2 separate regions of the Homo sapiens genome follow, and region 1 is linked to region 2. Evidence: promoter capture Hi-C in 16 types of primary human blood cells and fetal thymus (Javierre and others, 2016). All regions are on one chromosome and are shown on one strand. The core of a region is centred on a gene start or on the middle of the fragment in contact, and the rest is flanking DNA. Distances in the headings are between cores, read along the strand shown. Region 1 overlaps TUT4 (terminal uridylyl transferase 4). Region 2 holds the start of BTF3L4 (basic transcription factor 3 like 4).

Evidence for each region. Contacts are between HindIII fragments. The CHiCAGO score rates a contact against its expected background, and 5 or more counts as called.
Region 1: a fragment that was not itself captured here is called in contact with the fragment with the promoter of BTF3L4 in region 2 in 1 of 17 cell types (fetal thymus); the score reaches 5.0 in fetal thymus.

What each region holds. Positions count from the first base shown.
Region 1 is chr1:52,422,100-52,425,682 of GRCh38, forward strand. TUT4 (terminal uridylyl transferase 4) reads right to left here. Exons shown (of 30, transcript NM_001009881.3): 29 at 3,250-3,408; 30 at 1,176-1,903. The coding sequence ends at 1,836. Among named protein-coding and RNA genes, the nearest start is that of PRPF38A, 19 kb to the left of the region's middle. RefSeq lists an enhancer at 1,781-1,830. The HindIII fragment of the contact is 5,285 bases long and covers 1-3,583 here.
Region 2 is chr1:52,053,846-52,057,772 of GRCh38, forward strand. It overlaps BTF3L4 (basic transcription factor 3 like 4), which reads left to right and starts at 2,450. Exons shown (of 6, transcript NM_152265.5): 1 at 2,450-2,534. It overlaps TXNDC12 (thioredoxin domain containing 12), which reads right to left and starts at 1,346. Exons shown (of 7, transcript NM_015913.4): 1 at 1,155-1,346. The coding sequence starts at 1,251. RefSeq lists silencers at 1,370-1,774, 2,635-2,874 and enhancers at 1,940-2,653, 2,654-3,365. The HindIII fragment of the contact is 3,174 bases long and covers 2,030-3,927 here.

The DNA of each region.
Region 1 (3,583 bases), core at 149-2,648, 370 kb after region 2:
AATAAATGATTTAAGTCCACCACTTAATAGGATTCTGAAAGATGCTGACGCTTTAATAAGAAAAAATAGTAAATATACCTAACTCAGGTTAGGTAAAAAAAATAGTAAATATATTTAACTCAGGGCTGTAAATACAGCATGAATACCCTCAACCTCCTGCAATAGGTTTCAAATATCTTCCATGTTGCAAAATATGGCAAGGGCCCAAGCAGTCTCCTATTTAAGTAATGTATATCAGAGGAAGCGCAGCAAAGATAACCCACTGTCCTTACATTTTTATCTACTTATTCTGCACCTTTCCAAATAGATATATAGCATCATTTAGCCTAAAATCCCAGGCAACTGGACGGACTAATTAAGGGGTTAGAGAAAATTACCTCACCTCACTGCTAAAACAGCTAAAACATTATGCCACCAACAACTCGAGTCTGAATTCCAATACCCAATAATAATTAATTCCAAGTATTACTGGTAAATAATTATCATCTTGGCAAGTGTGCTTTCCAGGTGGAAGTATAGGACTCAAAATGAATACAGTCTGGGCTGGGTGCAGTGGCTCAACGCCTGTAATCCCAGCACTTTGGGAGGCCAAGGCAGGTGGATCACCTGAGGTCAGGAATTCGAGACCAGCCTGACCAACATGATGAAACCCCGCCACTACTAAAAATACAAAAATTGGCCAAGTGTGGTGGTGCATGCCTGTAATCCCAGCTACTCGGGAGGCTGAGGCAGGAGAATCGCTCAAACCCAGAAGACAGAGGTTGCAGTGAGCCGAGATCATACTACAGCACTGCAGCCTGGGTGACAGACAGACTCTATCTCAAAAAAAAAAAAAAAAAAAAGTAATCTTCCCTCCACTCTAATTGCCAATATTAGTCTCAGTGTTTTAAAATTCTCTTTCCAAATACTTTTCAATTCAGACTCCAGCATTGTTTGCTTTTTGGAATTTACTGACTGCTTTGCATTTCAGTTTTTATTTTCAAAGATAAAATGGAAATGGCTTCCGCTTCTATCAACCTCATATGGGTGTTGTGAACATCCAACCAAATAAAGGATATGAAATGTTACTTGAATCTCTAAAACTAAAATCTGTGATTTAGAATGCTCTATTCACTGAAATTAAAAGAAATCTTGTTACGTAATATTTCCATCATCTATACAACAGATTAACCAAATTTAACTCTTGTCAAAAAGATTTATTAACTTAAAATAGAAGTACTTCAAATACAGACAAAATCAACTTTCCATTCAAGTTTGAATGTTCAATATACAAGTATGGAAAAGAAAAAAAATCTGAATCTTCATGTTGTAATTTTATTTTATTTTTTTACCTTTTAAAAAGTTTTTGGCACTACAAGGTTCTGTAAAGAATAGAAGTGACAATTTAAAACACATGAAATTCTTTCCTAACTTTTAAGAACAATATATAAAGTCTGAAGCAACCAAAGTATGAATACAGCTAATAGAAAATAAAGAATGTAATTTTTTAAATTCTCTCTTTATACAATTCATCAAGGTTAAACAAAACATAAAATTCCCTTAAAAATAGGGTAATAAAATAGATGAAATTTGTATCACTCAATTTGGTGATACTAGTAAAAACTATAGTTCATATTTATATACAAATAATACAGTCTGTAAAAACAGTCTTAGAATTTAAATAAGCTATCTAAACGTGTTAAAATTTTAAATCAGGACCTGATTTGTTTTGCTTTCCATTAAATGTCACTTTTTCTGCTGAATGTAACTGACATTGAGGTACGGATACCCTTGAGACAGCAGGATTGGCTGGTTGCTGTGCATCGGTAGACCAGCTGAAAGAAAATGGACTCGCATTACTCCGACACGTTTCCTCTTGGTGGGTGGGGACAACGCTCTCTACACCGACGGGTGGCACATCTGTCTGTTGGATACAACACAGACAGGAAACTGAAAGGCTTGTGCCTGTTTATCTGACAACACCTTAGAATTAACTTGTAGTTAGCTTTCTTTTTTTCTATTTATATAATAGGAGGTGATAAAGCATGCTGCAAAACATTTGAGAGGGTGGGGAGAAAAATGAAGAAGGGAAGGAAATACCTGTATGTGAAAAAAGGAGAGGACACGAAAGATGGAGAGGAGGAATCAAAGGGAAAAAACCCACTAGAAAAGAGTTGCAGACTCTCCCCTCCTAAAAGGGCTTATGACTAATAGTAACTTCCTTCAGCCCCAGTTCTTTGCTCAAGAGAAGAGCTCAACCACAGTCAAGGCTCTGCCACTCTACAATACAGGGATGCCCCAGTAGTATATGGGTGGTTTAAGAAGGCTTAAATATAACAAGCCTGAGACCATACCAGGCACTTCCCCTTTAAGTTATCATTTCATTCAATCAGCATTTCCTGAGTGCCTGTTTTAACTTCTTGAACTCCTAGTTTAACTATACTGACTCTGACCCAAGTGTTCTGAACTAAGTTAACAAAGAGCTGAAGGCCAGACTCAGACAATGCCTATAAGAACAAATACCTCTGAGGCAAGTAGGTTAGATAAAATGCTCCAAGTTTCTAGGAATTCTTTGTTTGTAATATTCATTACCCAGTCAAAGCCATTATTAGTACTACAATAGCACCAGCAGAACATAATAAATTTTAAGGTCATTCAAGTCCTACGTTTACTAAACAAATATGATTATGTCTTCGTTCCACTAAAAACCTTTAATTAGGTCCCCAATGCTCAGTAAACCAAGTCCAAACTCCATAATATGGTCTAAGCCTACCCTCTCTAGCCTTATCACCATCTTTCCCATATACCTCCGTCCTCTAGCCCTAATATTTTCTACTCTTTTTCATTATGCCAGGCAAAACTCAGTGACTGCATATATTAATCCCTCAGCTAAGCATACTCCTCCTCCTCTCTCATCTCTAGGCAAAAAAAAAATTCCTGCATCTCTTTCAAGATCTAGCTCAACTGTCAAAATCTTGTGATGTAATAATCTTAAATCCACATCCTGTTTGGATTTGCTAGGGCAATGTTAACTGATTCATCTAAACTCCTTTTCTATTTAACATGTCTGGCTTTCCTAATAAAGTGTGCATCAAGTAATGGAGATTTTGTTTTACAAGCACCTAGCACCATCTGACACACAGTATAATTTCTCAGTAAATGTTTACTGAATTCATGAATTTTCACTCCCAGATCCTGGCCTTCACTAAGGCTCTCTATCCCAGAATAAAACCCACCCAAGCCTGTTAACTAATTTGTAAGCAGTGGTACCTTGAGTATAGAAAGGTTTGTTGGGCTGGAATCGGGCATTTCCCTGATGCATGAAGTTTTGATGCAAACCATAAGGCCACGAAGCTGGGACAAGGGGGAAATGGGGACGCGGTGCATGTTCCCAAGGAATTGGAGGAGTCAGTCCTCGAAAGCCTGGCTCTGCATTTCAACAAGAGGGAAAAAGACATTTAAAAACATTAGTTCATTCATTGAAATATCCCTTCATTCCACAAAGATATATTCAGTACCTACCATTGGCTAAGAACTATGCTAAATTCAGAGAATACCAAACAAACTTTTTTAAAGAATAAAGCATTGGTATTTGCTCAAATTA
Region 2 (3,927 bases), core at 1,200-3,699:
CACCAACCTCCCCAGCCTTTCTACTTCCTATTCCATCACAGTCTTATTGTTTTCCCAGCACTTGTTCCTAGTTGAAACTGTCTTATTAATTTGTTCATGAGTCTACTCTGTCTCTCTGACATGAATATAAGCTCCACCAGAGTAGGAACCTTGTCTGTCCTGTTTACAGCTATATCCCTAGTGCCTAGGACAGTGCCTGAAATATAGGAGGTGATCAAAAATTATTTACGGAATGAAGGAATGATTGCATTCAGGCAAAATGAATGCCCACCCAATCTTATTACTCACCAATAGATGTGAAAATAGAGAGGATAAGAGAAAACAAAAACAGAAGGATTGCAGCAGAATCATTCCATACAGTAAGGTCAGTGAAAAAAAAAAAAGGAAGAGGGGTTGGGATCCATGCTACAATTCATCTACTTAGAAAAGCATAAACTCTGAGTTCACAGACTGTCAGTCCAACTTTCAACTAAGTAAGGGCTGATGAGGAGAGAGGTGTTAAAACTTAGAATGGAGATGTAGGTAATGGATGGAGTAGGGGGCCACACCTCCTAACCTCCATTCATAACCACTGATCGCTCACTTACAAAAAAACTTCGCTGAACCACAGCAAGGACAATTGTTGGGGACCCTTAAACAGCAGACCTTCTACCATTCGCTTGGCTCTTCTTATGCACTAGATACAGCTACCTGGGATGCAGGTGCTGTTTCCCAAAGGCAAGCAAGTGGCAGTAACCTAGCTCTTCGCGGAAGAAGTAACGAGAGAAATCTTCAGACCCAGAACAGGGTCCTCTGCATATGCAGGTCCCCAACGGCTCTATTTCTCCCAGGTGGGAAGGTGACCGTTCCTCAGGACCTCCCAAGTGCTAGGCACTATGCTGGGCTCTTAACATGCTTTCCTTAATTTACGGGCCATTCCTTCCCCCCAATCCAATAATTTAGAGAGGCCTCAAGTACAACTTCTCCATTCCCCAGACCCGCTACTCTCTACCCCAAGAAATCTTCAAACTCCAGGAGCGGTTGGGGAAGATAAAAAGAAATCTGGAGTGGCCTAAGAGTTAGAATGGGAGGGGAACGGTGCTAGGGCAAGAAGAGATTATACTGGGATCAGTATAGTAAAGATCAGTAAAGAGAAGATAAGAACGCGGTCTGACCCTTTCCAAGCCCATTATGTCCATCAGAAGAGATGACGAGGAGCAGGAAACTGAAGCCCAGCAAACAGGTGGCCCCGAGACGAGGCCGCGTCTCCATGGCAGTAGGTGCGCGGGGCCACGGGGCTGAGCGGACGCAGGGCCGGAGTCCCAGCAGACGGTCCACACAGTTCGCCGAGCGCCGCTCAGCACAACACCTCTACTTCCCAGATTTTTTTTTTTCAAACTCTGAAGGAAGTGATGTTAGACGGATGTGGGTGGTGCCTCCGGGGTCCGGTTTGGGATGGAGTGAGCTTAAAGGTGCAGATCACGTAGAAGGGTACGAGAGCTGTTCTCGAGCGCGAGTTGCTTTTCGTGGATTCTGGGTGTCCAGGTCCCGGGACGGAGCGGGAAAATGTAGGCCAAGATAGTAGGGGCGGGGGAGAGGTTCGGGAGAACCGTTGCTCCTCGCGTCCGCCACCCAGTCCAGCCCCTCCCCCCAAGAACCGCTGCACTTCCTAGTCAAAAGCAAATTATTGATTCGTGAGGTCAGTCGCTCCCAACAGTGGGCGGATTGCCCACTGGCCTCGGATTCTCCTTACCCCTCCACAAATCAAGACTGGACAACTGGATTTCATTGTTAGGTTCCTGCGAGGGTCTCTGAGGAGACCTGGCAAGCCTGTTCTGCGGTGCGTGGGCTCGTGCCGTGCAGACATGCACTTTCCCGCTGGAGAAGCTCTGTACCTTATTTTTCCTTGCAACCGCAAATCTTCTACTCAGGGATGATGCAACCAACTGATGCAAGCTCCAAGAAAACCAAACTTGGGACCTCTTATTGCAAAACTGACTTAGGTGGACTTAGGACACCAGGATATAAGTCACTGCAGGCTAAAGTGTAAAGCTTCTGGTTATTTTTCTTGTAGCTTGAGGATTTCTTCCCAATTTTTCCCCTTCGCTGTATAACAAACAGGTGAAAATGTCCGGTCTTTTTCTTCCTGGTACTAGTTGAGTCCTAAAGTCCGTACTTAATGCATAGCGAAAAAGCGACCTAACAAAAGTACACACCCAAATAAAAACATACCGACCACCCTTTTATTAGGTTCCCTAAAATTGTAGGCAGGGACACAACAGAACGCTCGGGAGACTGCAAGCCCCAGGATGCCGCGCGGCCACCTGCACCTGCCGCCACTAGCACTAAGAGGGATGCGCAAAGCAGGCGGGGCGTTGGAGTTCAGATGTTCGCTCCCGGGATAGGCTGCCCCGGAGAGGGAGAGGCGGGGTCGGCTGTATCACGTGGATCTGCTCCCGCCGCCGCCGCCGCCGCCGTCGTCTTTCTCTGTCTCGGCTGAGGCAGCCATCTTTCTCTTGCCGCGTGCTGGTGTTGGAGGACCCTCCCTGCTTCAGGTGAGACCCCCGGCGGTCCCGCCACTTCACGGCCATAGGCCGCTGCGCACGGTCTCCCCCCGCCCTCCCCTTCCGACACCCGCCAACCGCTCAGGCTGCCACTTCCGCCGTGGTGCGGCGAGCGGGGGCGGAGGCGGCTGGCTTGGCCTGTCGGTTACCGGCGGCGCAGCTGGGGGTCGGCACCTGTGGGAAGGTCCCCAGCACCACCGCCCCCTGTGGGAGCGAGCGGGCCCGCCCTGTTGCCGCCCAGACCCTGTCCCAGGAGGCAGGTGGACGCCCCTCCTCTGTTCCATTACTCCTTGCTCACAACAGCAGTGTTGTGTGCTTTGAGCTTTATACAGGCTCTCTGTTGTCATCTCATTTGATGCTCCCAGTCTACAGATAGGGAAGCTGAGGTTACCACTTCCCGCCCTTGAGTCCAGGGAACCGAACTCAGTTACAGCACTCTTCACCTTGTAATGGCAGTGTTTGTTTACAAGTCGGCGTCCCTTGCCCATCTTTATAACCCCCCTCCCACTGCCTGCTGACCGACAGGCTCAGTGTTGCACAGCTAGTGAATGGCGGTTTCAACTTCCGTTCCCACATTCTTGCAGTTTACCATAGTTGTCCCCTCGGGAGTGGTAACAATAGTTACCAGTAACTGTGTATCTTCTGTGAACCATTCCCTGTGGTTGATAATGTTTTAACCCTCAAAACAACCCTGTGAAGTACGTGGTGTTATACCTTTCCAAATGCAGGAGGAATACAAGTTCAGAGAAGAAAAATACCTTTCCCAACTGGTAGAACCTTGGTCTTTCTGATTCCAAAGCCTGTGCTTGTCTTAGAGAAACCCTACATAATAAAAAGTCAGGACTCAAGGTTGCAATTATTTTTATCTCTGTGTAAACATGATGTATGTGAAAGTGCCTACCACAATGCTTCTAACTTAGGCACTTAATAAATATAAACCTGTTTACACCCTTTCTTGAGTCCTTGAGAACAGTGCTAAAAGATCCTGGAATCCCCAAGGAAGAACTCATTAATCATGTGGCTTTAGGAAGTTACTTCTCCCTTTTGGGCCTAGGAAGGGACTTCTCCCTTCTGGGCCCTTATTTCCTAATCTATTAAGATGGGAGGGAGGGAACTGTTTCGTTTGTAATTTATACTTTGCTGGTGCTAGCAGATGTTGAGATGACATCACAGATAGGAATGATGGGTGCAATAAAGTAGAGGTTGATTGAGAATAGAGAATTAAACCAGGTGATCTTGGAGGTCTACTCCAGATTCTGAGCTTGACATCGCATAGACTGAGTCCAGTCCTCTTTCCTACTTGAATTCCACACACCACAACTTGCCAAGAAACAAAAGACTACTCTTGTTCCTCCCCTACTGCCTTGAGCTCTCAGTCTCCCTA